Regions from separate parts of the Homo sapiens genome. Here regions 1, 2, 3, 4, 5 and 7 are each linked to region 6. The links are contacts of gene promoters, found by promoter capture Hi-C in blood cells and fetal thymus (Javierre and others, 2016). All regions are on one chromosome and are shown on one strand. Each heading gives the region's core, a stretch centred on a gene start or on the middle of the fragment in contact. The rest is flanking DNA. Distances are from core to core; before and after follow the strand shown. Region 1 overlaps CLYBL (citramalyl-CoA lyase). Region 2 overlaps CLYBL (citramalyl-CoA lyase). Region 3 overlaps CLYBL (citramalyl-CoA lyase). Region 4 overlaps CLYBL-AS3 (CLYBL antisense RNA 3). Region 5 overlaps CLYBL (citramalyl-CoA lyase). Region 6 holds the start of PCCA-AS1 (PCCA antisense RNA 1). Region 7 overlaps CLYBL (citramalyl-CoA lyase).

What was found. The method cuts DNA at HindIII sites, captures the fragments that hold promoters and counts their contacts. A CHiCAGO score of 5 or more calls a contact.
Region 1: a contact is called between a fragment that was not itself captured here and the fragment with the promoter of PCCA-AS1 in region 6, in 2 of 17 cell types (naive CD8 T cells and non-activated CD4 T cells). The highest score is 7.3, in naive CD8 T cells.
Region 2: a fragment that was not itself captured here is called in contact with the fragment with the promoter of PCCA-AS1 in region 6 in 4 of 17 cell types (total CD4 T cells, non-activated CD4 T cells, fetal thymus and 1 more); the score reaches 7.2 in total CD4 T cells.
Region 3: a fragment that was not itself captured here is called in contact with the fragment with the promoter of PCCA-AS1 in region 6 in 1 of 17 cell types (non-activated CD4 T cells); the score reaches 5.8 in non-activated CD4 T cells.
Region 4: a contact is called between a fragment that was not itself captured here and the fragment with the promoter of PCCA-AS1 in region 6, in 1 of 17 cell types (monocytes). The highest score is 5.3, in monocytes.
Region 5: a contact is called between a fragment that was not itself captured here and the fragment with the promoter of PCCA-AS1 in region 6, in 8 of 17 cell types (activated CD4 T cells, erythroblasts, fetal thymus and 5 more). The highest score is 8.6, in activated CD4 T cells.
Region 7: a fragment that was not itself captured here is called in contact with the fragment with the promoter of PCCA-AS1 in region 6 in 5 of 17 cell types (activated CD4 T cells, fetal thymus, erythroblasts and 2 more); the score reaches 6.5 in activated CD4 T cells.

Annotation. Positions count from the first base shown.
Region 1 is chr13:99,619,852-99,622,998 of GRCh38, reverse strand. All of the region lies in intron 1 of CLYBL (citramalyl-CoA lyase), which reads right to left. Among named protein-coding and RNA genes, the nearest start is that of CLYBL, 15 kb to the right of the region's middle. The HindIII fragment of the contact is 500 bases long and covers 1,347-1,846 here.
Region 2 is chr13:99,675,079-99,677,937 of GRCh38, reverse strand. All of the region lies in intron 1 of CLYBL (citramalyl-CoA lyase), which reads right to left. It overlaps LOC124903199 (a long non-coding RNA gene), which reads right to left. Exons shown (of 2, transcript XR_007063848.1): 1 at 1-2,859. Among named protein-coding and RNA genes, the nearest start is that of CLYBL-AS2, 14 kb to the left of the region's middle. The HindIII fragment of the contact is 1,672 bases long and covers 594-2,265 here.
Region 3 is chr13:99,698,181-99,701,085 of GRCh38, reverse strand. All of the region lies in intron 1 of CLYBL (citramalyl-CoA lyase), which reads right to left. Among named protein-coding and RNA genes, the nearest start is that of CLYBL-AS2, 8.7 kb to the right of the region's middle. The HindIII fragment of the contact is 8,716 bases long and covers 1-2,905 here.
Region 4 is chr13:99,905,305-99,908,076 of GRCh38, reverse strand. The region is part of intron 1 of CLYBL-AS3 (CLYBL antisense RNA 3); the gene reads left to right. It also overlaps a transcript of CLYBL not described here. Among named protein-coding and RNA genes, the nearest start is that of CLYBL-AS3, 50 kb to the left of the region's middle. The HindIII fragment of the contact is 3,286 bases long and covers 1-2,772 here.
Region 5 is chr13:99,888,457-99,891,576 of GRCh38, reverse strand. CLYBL (citramalyl-CoA lyase) reads right to left here. Exons shown (of 9, transcript NM_206808.5): 8 at 140-259. The coding sequence ends at 164. All of the region lies in intron 1 of CLYBL-AS3 (CLYBL antisense RNA 3), which reads left to right. Among named protein-coding and RNA genes, the nearest start is that of CLYBL-AS3, 67 kb to the left of the region's middle. The HindIII fragment of the contact is 2,582 bases long and covers 1-2,541 here.
Region 6 is chr13:100,479,415-100,482,369 of GRCh38, reverse strand. PCCA-AS1 (PCCA antisense RNA 1) reads left to right here and starts at 1,355. Exons shown (of 5, transcript NR_047686.1): 1 at 1,355-1,390. The region is part of intron 21 of PCCA (propionyl-CoA carboxylase subunit alpha); the gene reads right to left. LOC107984574 (a long non-coding RNA gene) reads left to right here and starts at 1,163. Exons shown (of 3, transcript XR_007063850.1): 1 at 1,163-1,250; 2 at 1,940-2,109; 3 at 2,607-2,823. The HindIII fragment of the contact is 6,979 bases long and covers 1-2,955 here.
Region 7 is chr13:99,644,948-99,648,115 of GRCh38, reverse strand. All of the region lies in intron 1 of CLYBL (citramalyl-CoA lyase), which reads right to left. Among named protein-coding and RNA genes, the nearest start is that of MIR4306, 3.5 kb to the right of the region's middle. The HindIII fragment of the contact is 1,448 bases long and covers 846-2,293 here.

The sequences.
Region 1 (3,147 bases), core at 347-2,846, 860 kb after region 6:
GAGCCAGGTGTGGTGGTGGGTGCCTGCAGTCCTAGCTACTTGGAAGGTTGAGGCAGGGGGAATCACTCAAGCCCAGGAGTCCAAGGCTACAGTGAGCTATGATCATGCCACTACACTCCAGCCTGGGTGACGGTGCCACTATACTCCAACCTGGATGACAGAGCTACATCCTGTCTCTAAAAAATTAAATTTAATTTAAAAAATAAACAAAATGTAGTGCTATATCCATACAAAGGAATGGTAAATGCACAGAGACAGAAGACAGACTGGTGGTTGCCAGGGGTTGAGGAGAGGAGGGAATGGGGAATGGCCGCTCAATGGATAGAGTTCTCCTTTAGGGCGATGAAAATGTTTTGGAACTAGATGGAGGTGATGGTTGCACAATATGGTGAATGTACTAAAACAGCCTCGAAGAGTACACTTGAATATTGCCTGGAGGGGCACCCATACATGTAAACAATCCTTTTTCACAGGATTGTTTGCCACTAGGGTAGGGGCAATGGAGACAAAAAGAAAAGGACAGATCCAAGAGATGTTTTTGGAACCAACAGGTCTAGATGATAGAATGTACATCTTAATATCTATGCTGGCAGCACATAACATGAGAGGCAATGAGGGAACTCAGCCCATTAGATGGTCATTCCAAGAGTTCAAACCTGAATCTATAACAGTGGATGGGTATGCAGAATAATGGCCCCCAAAGATGTCCACGTCCTTATACCCAGTATTTATTGATATGTCAGGTTACATGGCAAAGTGGAATGAAGGTTGCTAATCAGCTGACCCTGAGTTGGGGCGACTGGCCCTGGTTATCCAGGTGGGGCCAACGTAATCACAAGGGTGCTTCTAAGTGGAAAAGGGTGGCAGAAGCAACAGAACCCGAGAGATGGCAGCAATGGGGAGAAGAATTCAGCCCACTGGGTCTGGCTTTGAAGATGGATAAGGAGCCATGAGCCAAAGAATGTGGGCAGCCTCTAGAAGCTGAAACAGGCAAGCAAACAGATCACCCCTAGAACTGCCAGAAAGAACACTCTCCATCCCTGTAAACACCTTGGTTTCAGCCCACAAAACCTAGGTCAGACTTCCAAACTGCAGAAGCATAAGTTAACAAATCTGTGTTAACTTAACCAAGGGTGTCCAGTTTTTTTGGCTTCCCTGGCCCCACACTGGAAGAAGAATTGTCTTGGACCACACATAAAATCCACTAACAACAGCTGATAAGCTAAAGGGAAAAAAAAAAAAATCGCCAAAAAATCTCATGTTTTAAGAAAGCTCACAAATTTGTGTTGGGTCGTATTCAAAGTCATCCCAGGTCACATGTGGCCCACAGGCTGCAGGGACAAGCTTAATTTAAACCACCATGTTTGCGATAATCTGTTACAACAGCAATAGGAAACTAATACAATGAAAGAAGAGTTGGCACCTGAAGGGGAAAATCAACAGGCCTGGCAACAGATGGGGTGTGGGTGGGAGAGGAGAGGAGGCATCAAAGACCACTGGGAGTTCTGCATCTCGATCACCTTAACACAGGGAAGGGTGACAAAAGTCAGCGGAGAGGTTAGGGCTCTCAGGGACGAGACAGATGGCTGGCTGAGGTGTCCAGGGAAAGAAGGCTTCCAGGAGGAAGTGGCACTGATGACTCGAGAGTGTGGGGCATGGTGAGTGGTGCATGTGGGCCACAGGTAAGCGGCCTGGGGGGAAATGGAAAGATGGAGGATAGGTGAGGAGGTGCGTACATGCCACACTAAGGGGCCTGGACTTTAGCGGCAGGTAATTGGAGGTCACTGGGAAATTTATGCTGTCCAAGGGGGTGGGCACCATGATCAGAGTACAGCGTTAGGAAGCTTAAAAAGTGTATTTATGTGTTCAGGGGTGGGGAGAAGAGGTTTAACGGTAAGGATTCTCCCAGTCCTCTGGTGCAGGCATGTCACCAGATTACCTGGTAAATTCCTGATGTTCTGCAGGACAAGTAGACACTGATGATTCAAACGCACAGCTTGGGACTTTGTCCAGAGAACATGAGGGGTGGCAGAGAGACTCCAAGCTTCTCCTATACCCATATTCTCTTCCTGGTAGAGGAGAAATTCTCTTGACTGGCTGACTCCTTTGTAGTTGAGGTGTCTGAAGAAGACATTTTCTTTCTTTTTTCTTTCTTTCTTTTTCTTTCTTTCTTTCTCTCTCTCTCTCTCTTTCTCTCTCTCTCTTTTTCTTTCTTTCTTTTTTTGAGACAGAGTCTCACTGTCACCCAGGCTGGAGTGCAATGGCAGGATCTCAGCTCACTGCAACCTCCACCTTCCGGGTTTAAGCGATTCTCCTGCCTCAGCCTCCTGAGTAGCTGAGATTAGAGGTGTGTGACCACCACGTTCAGCTAATTTTTGTATTTTTAGTAGAGACAGGGTTTTATCATGTTGTGCCAGGTTGGTCTCCAACTCCTGACCTCGTGATCCGCCCATCTTGGCCTCCCAAAGTGCTGGGATTACAGGCATGAGCCACCATGCCCAGTGAAGGCATTTCTTAAAATGTATAGCACTTGAGAAGGGCTACACATCTGACATCAGCACTGCTTGTTTTCTTGGGCTCACTGGTCATCCCTGCTGGACTGCTGGCTGATGGGCCCTAGAACAGGCAGACCCTATGAGAGCACTGTGGCTCTGGGCATTTGCAAGCCAGCTTGAGGGTTCCAAGTGAGCAGGGAACCCAAATGGAGCAGAAAAAAACTGAAAGAGGTGAAATGTAGGCCAAAATCAGGTATCCACTTCTGAGTCAAAATCAGACTAAAATTTAGGATATCTACCTTCTCTTTCTCCTGAGTTCTTTTAGGTTCTGCGTCTCCATACACCTGAATTATTTTAGAATCCTAACCCCTAGGCGCTGTGCTGTGTCCATCATAAGTCACTGGAACAAAGTGCCTGGTAGCACTCCCTGCTGCAGGCAGAGACACCATGAGGGTGCCGCCCCTTCTGAGGACCTAAAGGGTCAACACCACACAACCAAAAACATCTCCCTTAATGTCAGGAGAAGGCGGTAAAACCAATTGAGTGCAGGCTGTACCAATAAGTTTGGGGGAGGCAGAGCTTTTATCTTCAATCTCTGGTCAAATTGAGCTCAAATGGACCAAAATAACTTAGAGCTCAAAAAGCTATATAC
Region 2 (2,859 bases), core at 180-2,679, 800 kb after region 6:
TATGGCAAGGTGACCTGAAATAAAATTTTATGTAGTCAAGGATTTCTGATAGTTCTTTATCCATAGCTTTCCTCTCACTCTGTAGCAGTGATGATTGAAACCCGATGTGTACTGCAAAAAAGGGCTATAAATCTTTTTATGTACAAATAAAACAGTAGCCATTAAATTTTGCTATGATGTCTGAGTAGATATTCAGCATGAAAACATGATAAAACAACTGTAAACTGATTGTGATCAAATGTAATTACAATGACTTGTCTCCAATGAATGACATGAACTAAATACAGTCACAGATTTCTCCAAAATTACTTTGGGCAAAGAACCAAGAGAACACTATATCCTTTCTTCACTAAAGGCATTTTGCCAGATAAATCGCAAACACACAAGCTTTAATAACTACTGCCAAAAAAGCACTTGGGAACTCATTATGGAAACGTTTAAAACACACACAGACACAGACACACGTGCACTCATATTTAATAAAAACTCTTCCTCCATATTAATATAATTTTACTGAAAAAGCCACGTGTTTTGAGATTTTTAATTGATGCTCCCCAGAAGTAAATCTAAGGAGTGATCGGCAATTACAAGCTTTTTTTTTTTCCTCTCTCAAAGTCAATGTATTTGGCTGCCGTTTCTGGCATCTTTATCTTGGAGAGGTTATAAGAAAATCTACTTGGATATTTTTATGCAGCTAAAAGTAAACAATGATCTGGATTCTGAAATAATCTGATCTTTTCAATACGCCAATGCAGGTAGATTCTCTCCCTCATTCTCTGCCCTTTTTGAGGTGACTTATTGCATTACCTCCAGGAACAGAAAAAATAAAAATGACCGTATACACAGGAGTCACATTCAGCAGTAATTATGGCTGACACAGGTCTACGAACCTAAGGACCTGGGAAAAAAAGGGGACAATTTGTGCTCTCAGCTCTACTGTCCAACTTTGTCCTTTTTTTTTTTTTAACCTCTAGTCCTGAAATTGTGGCAGTATTTATCTATACACCATTTGGGAATATTATTAAGAATGATGGGCCGAGCGCAGTGGCTCATGCCTGTAATCCCAGCACTCTGGGAGGCTGAGGTGGGCAGATCACCTGAGGTCGAGAGTTCGAGACCAGCCTGACCAACATGGAGAAACCCCATCTCTACTAAAAATACAAAATTAGCTGGGCATTTTTCACCCAGTGGTGGGGCATGCCTGTAATGCCAGCTACTCGGGAGGCTGAGGCAGGAGAATCGCTTGAACCTGGGAGGTGCAGGTTGCAGTAAGTCGAGATTGTGCCATTGCACTCCAGCCTGGGCAACAAGAGCAAAACTCCACCTCAAAAAAAAAAAGAATGAAGAAGGCTGGGTGTGGTGGCTCATGCCTGTAATCCCAGCACTTTGGGAGGCTGAGGTGACTTGAGGTCAGGAGTTTGAGACCAGCCTGGCCAACATGGCGAAATCCTGTCTCTACTAAAAAAACAATTAGCCAGGCCTGGTGGCAGGTGCCTGTAATCCCAGCTACTCGAGTGGCTAAGACATGAGAACAAATGAGGTGGAGGCTGCAGTGAGCCGAGATTGCGCCATTGCACTCCAGCCTGGGTGACAAGAGTGAAACTCTGTCAGAAAGAGAGAAGAGGACAGGAGGGGAGGGGAGAGGAGGGAAGAAAGAGAGAGAGAAAGAGAAATAGAAAAAGAAAAAGAAAGGGAGGAAAGGAAGGAAGGAAGGAAGGAAGGAAGGAAGGAAGGAAGGAAGGAAGGAAGGACGGACGGAGGGAAGGAAGGAAGCCAGTCTGTGGCCAGGGGTGGTGGCTCACGCCTGTAATCCCAGCACCATGGGAGGCCGAGGCGGGCAGATCACCTGAGGGTAGGAGTTCGAGACCAGCATGGCCAACATAATGAAACTCTATCTCTACTAAAAATACAAAAAATTAGCCAGGCGTGGAGGCACAGTGCCTGTGATCCCAGCTACTTGGGGGGCTGAGGCACAAGAACAACTTGAACCCGGGAGGTGGAGGTTGCAGTGAGCTGAGATCATGCTACTGCATTCTAATTCCATTCCTAAGTATAACCCCAGAAGAAATATACCCATACAACAATGTGTACAGAAATGTTCATAGCAGCATTATTCATAATAGCTAAAAAGTAGAAACAACCTAAATTTCCAACAACTAATCAATGAATAAATAAAATGTGGTATATATTAGTACATACAGTGGAATATTATTTGGCCCTAAAAAGGAATGAAGTACTGCCACATGCTACAGCTTGGATGAAGCTTGAAAACATTATACTAAGTGAAAGAAGCCAGTCACAAAAGACCACGTATCGTATGATTCCATGTATATGAAGAGTCCAGAATCGGCAAATATAGAAAGACAGAAAGTAGACTAGTGGTTGCCTAGGACTGAGGGTTTTGGGGGAAAAGGAGGAGTGACTGCTAATGGGAACAGGGTTTCTTTTGGGGCTGAAGAAACAGTGATAGAAATAAAATTAATCATGGTGATGGTTGCATAACACTGAATAGACTAAAAACCATTAAATTCATTGAACTGTATACTTTAAATAGGTGAACTGTATGAGATGTAAATTATATCTCAATAAAGCTGATATAGACACATAAAGTATATACACATATAGGGCATACATATATAAGGTAGAAATAGTCACATCTGTAATGCAGTGGTCCTGGTCCCCTTTATGTATGTGACAGTAGAAGATGCAGCATCAATATTAAAGCCTGATGAGTGCTCCAAATACGGTTTCATTTAAATATTGTCTGCCCCTGAAGAGGAGGAATATTAGGAAAAATCCATTCCATGCTTCTACCAAATCTGCTCTTGTCAAGGTCACCCATGACCCCCACGTGGCTAA
Region 3 (2,905 bases), core at 319-2,818, 780 kb after region 6:
CTTTGCACCATGCTGGGATGAAGTGACAACCGGCCTGGGCTCCTGGCTGTCTTACAGCATCCTCTGTAACATCACTGAACCAACGTCAACTTCCTCTGAGTGGAGAGGAAAAATTCACACTGGAAAACTGACATCGACGAAGAAATCTTGACAATCAGAGAGGGAAAAAAATCCAACTTTTCCGTAATGAATACTAAATCATTTGTTTTCAAGTTCTTTCATGCTGTGTTCAGAGAGACAGCATATATTGCCAGTGTCCCATTATACCTTAACGCCAAAAAGAAAAGCATTCAAATGTTGATTCTTGAGGCATTATGTTTACTTATCACTCCCTGCAGCAAATACACATTTGAGTTCTCTGAAGACTGGCCCACTCCATCCACAAAACGCAAACAGCCAAGACCAGTGAGGTCCTTCAACGTGAAAGGGACATCAAGGCTTCGGGGCCCCTCAGCTGCTGGGAAGAGTTGTGTGTGTTAGCCTGGAAACTTGAGGGAGTCAAAGCCCCAGACTTCCCATCACAAACACCACCACAGGACGGAACTTGCCTCCTTGTCGTGGGTCCAGTGTCCAACCTGGGTTGTTTACAAGTAGCCATTTAGCGCCTTCCTTGGTGCTGTTGTTTTGTTTTGTTTTGTTTTGAGATGGAGTTTTTCTCTTGTTGCCCAGGCTGGAGTGCAATGGTGCGATCTCCGCTCACCGCAACCTCCGCCTCCAGGTTCAAGTGATTCTCCTGCCTCAGCCTCCTGAGTAGCTGGGATCATAGGCGCGCGCCACCATGCTCGCCTAATTTTAAGTAGAGATGGGGTTTCTCCATGTTGGTCAGGCTAGTCTCGAACTCCCGACCTCAGGTGATCCGCATGCCTCGGCCTCCCAAAGTGCTGAGATTACAGGTGTGAGCCACTGCACCCGGCCTTGGTGCTGTTTTTACACCGTGGGTGTGTTTGTTGTTGCCCTTCCAGTGAAGGAGAAGAGAAGAAATGGGAATGCTAATGCCTGTTTTCATTGCTGGCTGCAATTTGAAATGGGAAAGTGCAGTAACATTAGGTTTATTTATTTATTTATTATTTTCATTTTATTTTATTTTACTTTTTTAGATGGAGTCTCGCTCTGTCGCCCAGGCTGGAGTGCAGTGGTGCAATCTCGGCTCACTGCAAGCTCCGCCTCCGTGGTTCACGCCATTCTCCTGCCTCAGCCTCGAGTAGCTGGGACTACAGGCACCCGCCACCACGCCCAGCTAATTTTTTTGTATTTTTAGTAGAGACGGGGTTTCACCTTGTTAGCCAGGATGGTCTCGAACTCCTGACCTTGTGATCTGCCCACCTTGGCCTCCCAAAGTGCTGGGATTACAGGCGTGAGCCACTGCGCCTGGCCTATTTTTATTTTTTTTTTTGAGACGGAGTCTTGGTCTGTCACCCAGGCTGGAGTACGGTGGCGCGATCTCGGCTCACTGCAACCTCCGCCTCCCGGGTTCAAGCAATTTTCCTGCCTCAGCCTTCTGAGTAGCTGGGATTACAGGCGCGTGCCACCATGCCCACCTAATTTTTGGTATTTTTCGTAAAGATGGGGTTTCGCCATATTGGCCAGGTTGGTCTCGAACTCCTGACCTCGTGATCTGCCTGCCTCAGCCTCCCAAAGTGCTGAGATTACAGGCGTGAGCCACCACGCCCAGCCACGTTTTTATTTATTTATTTATTTAGAGACCGGAGTTTCGCTCTTATTGCCCAGGCTGGAGTGCAATGGCACGATCTCAGCTTACCACAACCTCCACCTCCCGGGTTCGAGGGAGTCTCCTGCCTCAGCCTCTCGAGTAGCTGGGATTACAGGTGCCCACCACCACACCCAGCTAATTTTGTATTTTTAATAGAGACGGGGTTTCTCCATGTTGGTCAGGCTGGTCTCGAACTCCCGACCTCAGGTGATCCGCTCACCTCGGCCTCCTAAGGTGCTGGGATTACAGGCATGAGCCACTGCGCCAGTCCCAGGTTCATTTTTTAAAATGTCAGTGTTTAACATTTCCTCCATGTTAATGATGAAGGGAAAAAAAAAATCTTACTCCGAAAAATGACTCTTTCATAGAACATCAGTGTTAGTTTCTGAGTGGCACGTTTTAAAAACATTTAATCAGTAATCTGAATATATGTCAACACCTTCTGGCGGTGTGCTATAAAATGTGAACCTTGTCAACAGCAACAGAAAAAGGTGACACACTTGGGACACAGAGCTTTTATGCTGACACACAGTAATAATATAATTTTAAAATTTATCATCTGTTTAGCTGCAAGCAACAACAATTAATCTTTTTGACAATTCATACAATGCTTTAAATAACACCTGGGCAGAAAAACCACACATTCTAATTTTTACTTTCATCATCTTCCAGGGCTTTATAGCTACAAATGCATATAAAGCCACACACAATAAATTTTGTGATTAGGATTAAAATGTTAGCAAAAAATATTTCCCTTGTCACCGCATGCCCCTCCTTGCCTCAGTTAATAAAATTACTTAACATGAGAACTGGAACTGAGAGCAAGTCCCAGTGGAAATGTGGGCCTCCAAGGGTTCATTTCTGTCACGTCAAATGACATTTTATTCCCAAATCATTTAACCTACGACTTTGCATAACTACTTATAGCTTGAACGTAATTCTGATGGGGACCCAGAAATGACACTGATCCCTCAACTAGAAACTCCATCAAGGCACGGTAATACTGAGCCCATCTAATTTAACAATTAAAAAAAAAAAACAGCAGCCAGGCACTACTCGGGAGGCTGAGGCAGAAGAATAGCTTGAACCTGGGAGGTGGAGGTTGCAGTGAGCCAAGATTGTGCCACTGAACTCTGCACTCCAGCCTGAGAGACAGAATAAGACGGCACCTCAAACAAAAACACAAACAAAACA
Region 4 (2,772 bases), core at 39-2,538, 570 kb after region 6:
GGAAAAAGCTCTTTCCAAGAACCTGCAGGGAACAGGTGACTGGAGCTCAGGTTACTTTTTTGCCAATCCGAGTGCTGTTCACCACTCAGCACAGCCTGACCGTCCTCCCCGGGATGAGAGGTGCCCATGGGGTGCAGTCAGGAGGAGTCCCTCGCAAGCCCATGCCCAAAGTCTTGGCACCTGGATGTTTCAAATCATATGAAACCACGTGCTGCGGCTCTCTATTCAGGGTCTTTTTAATTGTTTTTGAGATGGAGTCTTGCTATGCTGGCCAGGCTGGCCTCAAACTCCTGAGCTCAAACTGATCCTCCCACCTCAGTCTCCTGAGTAGCTGGGACTACAAGCAAGCACTACCATGCCCAGCTTTATTTATTTATTTTTTAGAGATAGAGGGGTCATGCTACGTTGCCAGGCTGGTTTTGAACTCTTGGCCTCAGGCAATCCTCCTGGTTCAGCCTCCTGAGTCTCTGGGATTACAGGTGTGACCCATCATGCCCAATTAAAAAAAATTGATGTATAGTTAGTGAAAAATTTGGAAATACAAAAATGTAAAAAGAAGAAAAAATAAAAATCACCAGTAGTCTTATCACCCAAACACTACAATTGCTAACATTTTATTGTTTTTTTTTTCCAGTGTTGTGATTTCTTTTTAACATGGTTATAATCACAGATAATAATTATAGGAACCAACACTTGTCCAGTGCCTACAGTGTGCCAGGCCACTGTGCTTTGTATGTATTAACTCATTTCAGGCTCAAAAGAAACCTTAGGAGGTAGGTAGTATTATTACCCCCATTTCACAGATAATAAGACTGAGGCACAGGGATGTTAGGATCTTGCTCAAGGTTACTTAGCTAAGAAGCCTAAGAAGCAGGAGAGCCAGGCAGTTCAGCTCCAGACTCGCATTTGCAGCTTGGTATGCATCAGAACTTGACTTTATAGGAAAAGCACTTTCTTATCACCTTCAGAAGCACCAGTTTTAGTGGCTGTCTAATATTCCATCAAGTAAATGTCTCCCGATTGACTTAGCCATACCTCTGTAATTTACATGATGCAACTGTGAATAAAGTAGTATTTGCCAATGAGGCTTTTTTGATATTCTGGATTACAGAATTTCTTTAGGATAAATTCCCAGATGTAGACGCAAAGGGTCAAAGAAAACAGTAAGTCTGCAGATGCACGAAGCCAAGTATTTTCCAAGCCACCCGCTGTGGGGCTGCCCATCCTTGGAGGGATTAATTCTTTCTTAATCCTCAAGAAAGGATTAATGCATTTGTTAGGCAGAAGATGTTTTAATGTTTTAAAATGCTCTCCAGCCCAAATCTGAGTCATCTTGTAATAATAAGAACTCAAGGCCGGGCACGGTGGCTCACGCCTGTAAGCCCAGCACTTTGGGAGGCTGAGGAGGGTGGATCACCTGAGGTCAGGAGCTCGAGACCAGCCTGGCCAACATGGAGAAACCCCATTTCTACTAAAAATACAAAAATTAGCTGGGTGTGGTGGCAGGCACCTGTAATCCCAGCTACTCAGGAGGCTGAGACAGGAGAATTGCTTGAACCCGGGAGGCGGAGGTGGTATTGAGCCGAGATCGCGCCACTGGGTGACCGAGCAAGACTTTGTCTCAAAAAAGAAAAAAAAAAGAAAACTCAAAAAAGCTCTGGGGGTCCTTCAGTTCCCATTCAAATTCTGATTTTCACTCACACTTATTTTCCTCATATCTGATTATTCTTATGTAAAACAACAATAAAATGAAATCTTAACAGACATTTTTCTGATTTGAAAACTTTTAAATGTCCATTTTAGAAAATAGGGAAACTCCAAAATCCCCTGTAGTGACATTTACTTATTTTATTGTTTATTTTATTTCTTGATGATCACAGTGACAGGTGCTCATTGTAGTCCATTTGGAATGTACAGGAAAGTATAAAAGGAACAAAGTGAAATAACCAAATGGAGGCAAACTTCTCAGCATTTTCCCTTTTGCCATTAAACATGTTGAATCTGGCAGAGTGTCATGGCTCATGCCTGTAATCCTAGCACTTTGGGAGGCTGAGGCAGGTGGATCACTTGAGCCCAGGAGTTCAAGAACAGACTGGGCAACATGGTGAGACCCCGTTTCTACAAAAAATACAAAAATCATCTGGGAGTGGTGGCACAGGCCTGTAGTTCCTGCTACTTGGGTGGGGTCCTGGCTGAGGTGGGAGGATGGCTTGAGCAGGGGAGGTCGAGGCTGCAGTGAGCCGAGATCGTGCAGCTGTACTCCAGTCTGGGCGACAGACAGAGACCCTGTCTCAAAAACAACCACAACCACCACCACAACAACAACAAAACATGTTTGATCTAAAAAAAAAAAAGCAAAAACAACAACCAAAAAACACTTTTTTATGGCTGCATGAAAATTTCCATCTAAGGTACTTTTAGATTTCTTCCCCCTTTTCTTTCTTTTTTTGGTCTCACACCTGGAGCTCGGTTCTTGGCTGACTTGCAAGTTTGCTTTGAAGGATAATGAAGAATAATTGGAACAGAATGGAGGTGGGGGAGGGTGGACAGAATAAGAAAGGGCTCCACTGCCCCCAGCTTTCACTTCCTAGAACAGGGCCAGAAGGGCCCTAGGGCGGCTTCAAGACACCCTTTTGGCCAGTCACTAACACAGTGATGTCATGTCACTCACCACAGGCACGTAACAGAAGCTCAGTAAATGTGTGCTGGAGGGCAGATCAATGGACGGATTTGACACAGGTCGCCATGTATGAACTTTACCCTCTTGTTGTA
Region 5 (3,120 bases), core at 1-2,500, 590 kb after region 6:
CTGGCCAGTGAGACAACAACAACAAAATTGTGATTAACATGAACTGTAAATGGAGTCAGGTCCCAATCTGGCATCCTAACAAGTTGCTTTGAGTATTGTGGTTTGTCTTTAAGAACCCCACTGTATATGTTCAGCCCACCTGATGACAGCTTCATTTAACAGATCATTTTTCCTTGATGGAGGTGGCAAGCGTAACAGTGTTCTGGGCCTGCTTCAGTAATGGCATGTCGATCATACTCCCTTGGAAAGTAAAGGCCCCCTGGAAAACAGAGAATACAAACTTCCTGAAAGAATACTCGAAATTATAGGTTTCCTTTCTGTGCACACTTGTGCAACAAGAACATTTTAGATTCCACCTGAATTATACTGACTTTCCCGCCCAACTTTTGAGAAAGCCAAAGTAAATTACAGAGGAAACACTTCTTTTTTCCCCCTAAAGAGGGGAAAAAAATAAAAATCTTCAGCATTTTAATGGAGAGGAGAAACACATTGGACACAAGACAGCAAACTGTTCAGTTAACTCTTGAAATCAAGCAGAAAACAGCTGTGGAAGGAAAATCTAAATACTTCCCTATATATTTTTGAAATATTATGTAGAACTTTAAAAGCAAGAATATATTCTGGCAACTGATTATTGTTTTAAAAAATTGTACCATCAGGCTAATGGCAAAATCTTACCTCCTTGCTGTAACATAATTGAGAGGTAACATGATAAGGTTATGAGAAAATGCAAGGTAGGATTGTACAGGGTACAAAGAGATGAGTCTGTTGGTAAACCCATACAGAAGACGATTAGAGTGACCAGGGACGGCCAGGCGCAGTGGCTCACACCTGTAATCCCAGCACTTTGGGAGGCCGGGGCGGGCGGATCACCTGAAGTCAGGAGTTCAAGACCAGCCTGGCCAACACGGTGAAACCCTGTCTCTAATAAAAATACAAAAAAATTAGCTGGGCATAGTGGTGCACGCCTGTACTCCCAGCTACTCGGGAGGCTGAGGCAGAAGAATTGCTTGAACCCAGGAGGTGGAGGTTGCAGTGAGCCAAGGTCACACCACTGCACTCCAGCATGAGTGACAGAGCGGGACTCCATCTCAAAAAAGAAAGAAATACCAGGGACATGAGCTGTAACAAAGGAATCATAGATCTGTTGAATGTTAAGATGGGAAGGCATCTCTGAAATCTCTTGGAATAGTCCCATTTTACAGACTCATTTTTTAAAAAACTTCTACCATACTTATATAGACTGTGTCAAGTAACCTAAGCCCTGTTTTAGATGAGGAAACTGAGGCTCAGAGTAGTAAAAGAAGGAAAAAAAAAGAAGTGATCTTCCAAGGTCATGTGACTAGGGAAAGCCAGAGCTGGGGCTGATGCTTGGGTCTCAGAGCTTCAAGCCTTCATCAGAGATCCCCACATTAAGAAGACAAGGTAGCTTCTTTAAGTGCATCAGCAAAAGATAGATTAAACGGACAGAAAGCAGCATGCTCAGAACCCAAAGTTAATGTCTGGTTATTTGTGTTCTTTTCATCACTTCCTTTTGCTGCTTACGATGATATCCCTTCATCCTAATCCACCCTGCTTCGACCTGTTGGCAAGGATGCTGGTGTGACTGGGTTGCAGGGGTCCTTCGAGATCTGGGGGTGGCTGGGGCAATCCTAATGCACATTGATGATGGTCCATTTGCATCTATTGTAGCCCATTTCTGGATTTCACAAGTACCAATTCCCAACAGTCAATGCTGATGTCACTCAGGGCTGCCGGGACAGGAGTGCTGGGCTCTCATGATGAGGGCTGAGAGGTAGTAACTTACGGTTATACATAGGATGGAGGTAAAGAAAAATGGGGGGAATCCTTAGCAATGACTTTTGGGATTTATCTTTTGATTGAGAGAGATTCTAAGCCTACTAGGATTAGAATTTTTACCAGCAGTGGCCAACCTTTTCAGCCTTAGAAATGATGACTCTTACTCACATGAACACCTGTGTGGCCTAAACCTAAATTCCTGTACTGTAAGTCACTTCCCAGCCCTCTTGTTTTTACTGTTTTTACCCCTAGATTGTCCTTTCCATAATTTCATTCAGCCTCGAGCTAATTTTGGTCACCTCTGTGACCAGGAGGAATTTTCCTAATTTGGTTGGAAGTTCCGAGGTGGTCCTGTAGGTTGGCGTTACGTGGAAATCCGGGCCTGGGTCACATGCTGTTTTACAAGGCAATCGTCTAGTTTTCTTATTGGAGTAAATGATGAAGACCAAAGGCCTCTTGGTTATCCACCCACCAAGTGGGTTATGGCCCTGTAAAACAGCACATCTGTCCTGCTAGGGTTTAAACAATAGGCTGGGGAGACGAAATTAGCATAGATGCACAGGAAATCAAAACGGTGCGCAGAGAATCCAAACGGTGGCTGTGAGTCTGTGCCATGTTCCCGAACCTGCTTTGGGTTCCATGTGCACATCAAAGATAAAAAACACTTCATGTAGTTTTTCAAGACTGGGAGATTATTTCTTCTATGGTCGCAGGTTTTGCTTGATTTTCTTTAATGAAGCTTAAGGTGCAAAACGAAATGTAGCATTTTTCTTGTTTCCTGCATCACTGCAAATGGAGGATGGTAGTGTTATGAATGAGACTGCCTAGCGTGAATATCCCCAGGCTCTCACATAGCCACCTATAATTTAGGTGGTATTTTTTTAACATGTGGGTCTATAGGTGAGATGAAAAATAGTCTATTGGTCAGGATTTAGAAAAATGCAGTTCATCAAAAAGCTACTTGGATTTTTGAGGAGGGTTTGAAATCTTCCTTAATGATTATATTTTATATTTATTATATATTTTTTGAGACTGAGTCTCGCTCTGTTGCTCAGGCTGGAGTGCAGTGGTGTTACCTCGGCTCACTGCAACCTCCGCCTCCCGGGTTCGATTCTCCTGCCTCAGCCTCCCAACTAGCTGGGACTACAGGTGCGTGCCACCACGTTTGGCTAATTTTTTTTGTATTTTTAGTAGAGACTGGGTTTCACCATGTTGTCCAGGCTGGTCTCGAACTCCTGGCCTCAGCTGATCTGCCCACCTCGGCCTCCCAAAGTGCTGGGATTACAGGTGTGAGCCACTGCGCATGGCCTCATGGTTAAA
Region 6 (2,955 bases), core at 106-2,605:
TCCCTCTCTATTGGCCCCTTCTCTTCATCCTGAAAGTCAACCTGAGTCATTCCAATCAACAAATTCTCTCTCGACTCTGCATCCCTCCTGGCTACTGCCTTCTGACCTGACCCATGTTCTCCACACAGTCCTCTGCTCTAGCTGCTGCAACCACACTTGCACTCACGACCAAACCAGCCCTACGTGGCTATCGCCACCACTGTTCTTCCTAACTGACAAGCTGTCTCAGGTACCCACAGGTTAGATATTTCAGGGGAAATGACTGTTACAGAAATGTTCATGTTAGAATGAAGAAACAGATCAATACACATCAATCATATTAAAAAGGTGCTTCTAAGACAAAGCATATATTATTTTTATTATTCATATTCAATATTTTAGGAATTAAAGCAACGATGTTTCTGCAAATTTATGGTTTTGAATTGATGGTACGTTGTAATAATGCATAGATAGGGTCTGCCTGAGCTTTCACCCCAGGAACTGTAAACTTTATATTACAGTAGTCCCCCCTTATCCAAGGTTTTAGCTTTCCAAGGTTTCATTTACCTGTGGTCAACCATGGTCCAGAAACATTATATGGAAAATTCCAGAAATAAACAATGTATAAGTTTTAAATTGTGAGTCATTCTGAGTAGTGTGAGGAGATCTTGTGCTGTCCTGCTCCATCCTGCCTGGGTCATAAACCCTCTCTCTCGGGGTCCAGCATCTCCACGCTGTAGACACCCCCACCACCAACCAGTCACTTAGTGGCCATCTCAGTTACCAGATCTACTGTCAGGGGGTCTCAGTGCTTAGGTTCCTTTTTTATTTTTGAGACAGAGGCTGGCTCTGTCGCCCAGGCTGGAGTGCAGTGGCATGATCTTGGCTCGCTGTAACCTCCACCTCCTGGGCTTAAGCCATGCTCCCACCTCAGCCTGCCGAGTAGCTGGGACTACAGGTATGTGCCACCGTGACCGGTGAATTTTTGTGTTTTTTGTAGAGGCAGAGTTTTGCCATGTTGCCCAGGCTAGTCTCAAACTCCCGAGCTCAAGTGATCCACCTGCCTTGGACTCCCAAAATGCTGGGATTACAGGTGTGAGCCACTGTGCCTGGCAGGAACTATTATTTGACTTCACAATGGCCTCAAAGTTCCAAGAGTATGATGCTGGCAATCTGGATATGCCAAAAACCAGCCATGAAGTCCTTCCTTTAGTTAAAAGGTGAAAGTTCTCAAGAAAAAAAAAAGTATGCTGAGATTGCTAAGATCTACAGTAAGAATCAATCTTCTATCCATGAAATTGTGAAAAAGGACAAAGAAATTTGTGCTAGTTTTGCTGCTGTACCTAAAACTACAAAAGTTACAGCCACAGTGTGGGCTAAGTGCCGAGCTGAAATGGAAAAGGCATTAAAGGCAAGCGTATACAGGGTTCGGTCCCATCCGCAGTCTTAGGCATCCCCTGGGGATTTTGACATGGATCCCCCGTGGAGAAGGGGGGCTACTGTACAGTACACTTCCCTTCAGCAAGCCGCATATTCAAGTTCTCTATTTCAGATTCCCCTTCGTGACTGTCATGCAGGAAGCAAAGAAAACCCATTGTGTCCAAGGAAATTTTTACTTTCTCTAGGGATTCAGAAACCTGACTTTCTGATACTCAGAAACTCAGTGCGCATGGGTGAGAAGGCTCGGTAGGGAAGAGGTGCTTTGTAGCTCAGGATCTGCTGGAGCTGAGGGCGTTTTTTGGTTTAATCTAGTTTCACTGTGTGTTTCATGGAGAGGTTCCTCTAGGAACAAAAGGTTCTATGGAAGTCACGTCCTTTATCCCTCTTAGCCATCCCTGTGTCTGCCTTAGCCAACCTCCCATTTGTAAAAAGAAAGCAGAGACCAGGCTATGGCTGAATAGTTTCAGACAGCCCCTATACCACTGTCAGCCTTTGCAAAGTGTAATGCTTTAATTACAAGGGTCACACAAGGTCTTAAGACACAGGAGTCCCTGTGTCTGAACGTAATCACTGTGTATGCGTCTCAGCCTAATGAGGAGGTGACTATCATGAAGGTCTGGTGGTGAAGATCTTGCAAGAAGGTGCCTTGTTTGAGATCTTTCAAGGAAACACAGTACTCAATAAATGTGGGTGAGTAGAAATTACAATTTAGTTGGGTTAATTTTTGGTAGTAATATGGAGCTTTGCAAAGAGAAAGGCATTTGCTGAAGACACTGGTAAAATATGTGCTGAAGCTCTGCCTCATCTAGTCTGGTTCAAAAGTCAAATATCAAAGAGTCAAGAGACCCTCCTATTCAGAAGAAAGCCCTGACTTGTTAATTTATTAGAAGCAAGAGTAAATGCTCCATAGGTTTTTCATTAAATAAAATTAGATCTAGTCCCAGGGCTTTTCTGTAATGGGTGCTCCTGAGTCAGGAATCAAGACCCATGAAGTAAGAAAAGAACAGGTAGGCAAGGGGGTACCTTCTCCTCTAACAAAAGTGGCCTATCAGATGGTCAGGGAGTCTCTATCAGTGGAGCCAAACCAGCTCCACTGACACAGTTAAAGACCCTTGCCATCAAGTGCAAAGGGAAGCAGTAGGACTTAGAGTAGGCCATTTCCTACTAAAAATGGAATCATTTTTCAGTTCGGTGTACAGTTGAGCCTTGAGCAACATGGATTTGAACTGCATGGGGCCACTTAAATGTGCATTTTCTTATGACTCCGCTGCTCTTGAGACAGCAAGATCAAGCCCCCTCCTCCTCAGCCAACTCAACGTGAAGACAATGAAGATCAAGATCTTTAAGATGATCCACTTCCACTTAATGAATAATAAATATATTTTGTCGTTATGATTTTCCTAACACTTTCTCTAGCTTACTTTATTGCAGGAATACAGTATATAATCATGTAACATACCAAATACGTGCTAAATGACTGTATGTTATTGGTAGGACTTCTGGTCAGCAGTAGGCTACTAGCAGTTACATTCTGGG
Region 7 (3,168 bases), core at 320-2,819, 830 kb after region 6:
AACTTAATGGAAAACCTGGTGCATGCCAACTTCATTTCTCATAATGAAATATCCTATTTTATTGTTTTAACTGGTTTTAAAGACTTTAAGATAGAAATTATTACCCCCAGAGCCAACACACCAAGCCACCAAGACAATTCCAATGAACTGTTTCCTCTGAACAGAGAATATCTTGTTTAAATATTAGCCACTGAAGTTTTCTCTCACAACCAACAAGATGAAAATAGGAGGGAAATTATTTGCAATCGTTCTCAACTGGGCACCCATACTGCTAGTGTCAAAATCTATGGCTTTTCCAACAAGATGGCCACCTCTGCCAAAAGCATGCTCAGAAATGCCAACTGTAATTAAAATCTGGCACCTGTCTTGGGCACCAAATTTGCTTCTAATATCTCCAGTTGAAATGTGTCTCAGCTTCGAGAGGACTTAAGATGCTTCTTGCCCTCTGCCCTTTGGAAAAACACTCGAGTGGAAAAATTGACGGCTGTTATCCCCAAAATTACATTTTTTACATTTTAACTGTCCTAAATCTTCTCTGCTTTCTTTCTCTGAATCTGTTTGTTTAATTAGTCCCAAGAGAATCAGCATACATTCCCTTCACACATTTTGTTTTTATAAACCTCAAGAAAAATAGGCACTGAAATAAGTTCTTCCCACTATGGAGTTGTGATGGGGGGCGGGGCCGGGGGGGCGTGTGACAGATGTAGATTTTGCAAGGCCTTAGATACTATGGAATTGGGAAGCTCTAGGTGGGGCGGGAGCCTTCCCTAAGAAGGTTTTTCAGAGCCACACGTCTTGATTTGAGGCACATTGCTTTGGACCTCTCTGCTGCCTATGAACAAGCTTGTGTCCTACCTATTGTTTTCTTGAGCTGGGGCTATCAAAATTCTAAGTAGTTTTTTGTTTGTTTTGTTTTTAAAGACTGTAGCATTTCTCAAGAAGAAACTTCTTGTGATCTTTCTTATAAGCCTTTCAAACACTGGCCACCCAGCCCCCCTTAGGTGTGGGCAGAGTGGTCCTCAGGCCCATGAGCACCATGGATGGTGATGCACTGCACAGCTTGGCAGTGACAAGCATTCCCAAAGCATGGGAGGCCAGAGCGTGCGGAGGGCCCAGCAGCAGCCTCTCCAGAGGGGAAGGGGCCCTGCCCACCTCTCTCCCTGCTGTATCCCTGGGCCTAGAAGAGTGTCTGGCACAGAAGGTACTGAGAAGTAGCTATCGCAGGGCTAGCAGGCAGATCTAGGGTATGCTTGCCTTTGTAACGAGCTCCTTATATTAAGATTTCTGTAACCAGCCAGGCGTGGTGGCTCACGCCTGTAGTCCCAGCACTTTGGGAGGCCAAGGTGGGTGGATCACGAGGTCAGGAGTTTAATACCAACCTGGCCAAGATGGTGAAACCCTGTCTCTACTAAAAATACAAAAAAAAAAAAAAAAAATTAGCCAGGTGTGGTAGCGGGCACCTGCAATCCCAGCTATTCAGGAGGCTGAGGCAGAGAATTGCTTGAACCCAAGAGGCAGAGGTTGCAGTGAGCCGAGATCACGCCACTGCACTCCAGCCGGGGTGCCAGAGTGAGACTCCATCTCAAAAAAAAAAAAAAAAAAAAAGATTTCTGTAACCAATTGGCTCCTATAGTCAGAGGAACCTGACCCAGGTGAATTATAAATCATTGTAAATGCAAGATGCCCTTCTCCCTGGTGAGGAGCACAGACATTCACCCTTTGGACACACATCCTCATTAACCCTCCCTTTCAGGAGCTCCATCCTTCAGCAACCCTTCTTCCCCCAGGCCACCCCAAACTCCTATAACACACCACTCCTCATTAGAAATTAAAAGGGGCTAAAGGAGTGCGATGACTGCTTAAGGTACAAGTAGATTTACTACTGAATACAGAAAAAATATAAAAGCAGTGCCTGATTATGACAGGATCCTGCTCAAAATAATTCACCAATAAGTTGCTTCTTTGGAACTGAAAATGAATTTTTCCCCATGGAAAAAATGTCACAAATGATGGTTAGGACCTCAGGATAGCTCACAAAAGCCCACTGAACCCCACAGTGTCCCAGGGTGCCACTATTTTAATAGCATGTTCATGGCAAACAGAATCCTAAGTTTAAATTAGGGAATTTCTCAGCCACAGGAAAGAAGATACCCTGACATTGCTGGTGGCTTATTCATGCCCCACACCCCTTAAAGAAAGCCCTCTCCCTGGATCAGAAATTGCCCTAAGGCCCCAAAAGCACAGGCGACCGAAGCAAAAATAGACAAATGGAATCATGTCAAGTTAAAAAGCTTCTGCACAGCAAAGGAAAACAATCAACAAAGTGAAGAGACAGCCCACAGAATGGGGAAAAATATTTGCAAACCATCCATCTGAGAAAGGATTAATAACCAGGATATATAAGAAGCTCAAACAACTCAATAGGAAAAAAAAAATTTAATAATCTAATTTAAAAACTGGGCAAAAGATCTGAACAGATATTTCTCAGAAGAAGACATACAAATGGCAAACAGGCATATGAAAAGGTGCTCAACATCACTGATCACCACAGAAATGCAAATCAAAACTACGGTAAGATATCACACCCCATTAAAATGACTTTTTTTTTTTTTTTTTTTGAGACAGAGTCTTGCTCTGTCGCCCAGGCTGGAGTGCAGTGGTGCAATCTCAGCTCACTGCAAGCTCTGCCTCCTGTGTTCACACCATTCTCCTGCCTCAGCCTCCCAAGTAGCTGGGACTACAGGCACCCGCCACCACGCCCAGCTAAGTTTTTGTATTTTTTTAGTAGAGACGGGGTTTCACCATGTTGGCCAGGATGGTCTCGATCTCCTGACCTCGTGATCCACCCGCATCAGCCTCCCAAAGTGCTGGGATTACAGGCGTGAGCCACTGCACCCGGCCTAAAATGACTTTTATCTAAAAGATAGGCAATAACAAATGCTAGCGAGGATATGGAAAAAAGGAAACCATCGTACACTGTTAATGGGAATGTAATTTAGTACAACCGCTATGGAGAACAGCATAGAGGTTCCTCAAAAAACTAAAACTAGAACTACCATATGACCCAGCAATCCCAATGCTAGGTATATACCCAAAAGAAAGGAAGGCAGTGTATTGAAGAGATATCTGCACTCCCATGTTTATTGCAGCAGTATTCACAATAGCAAA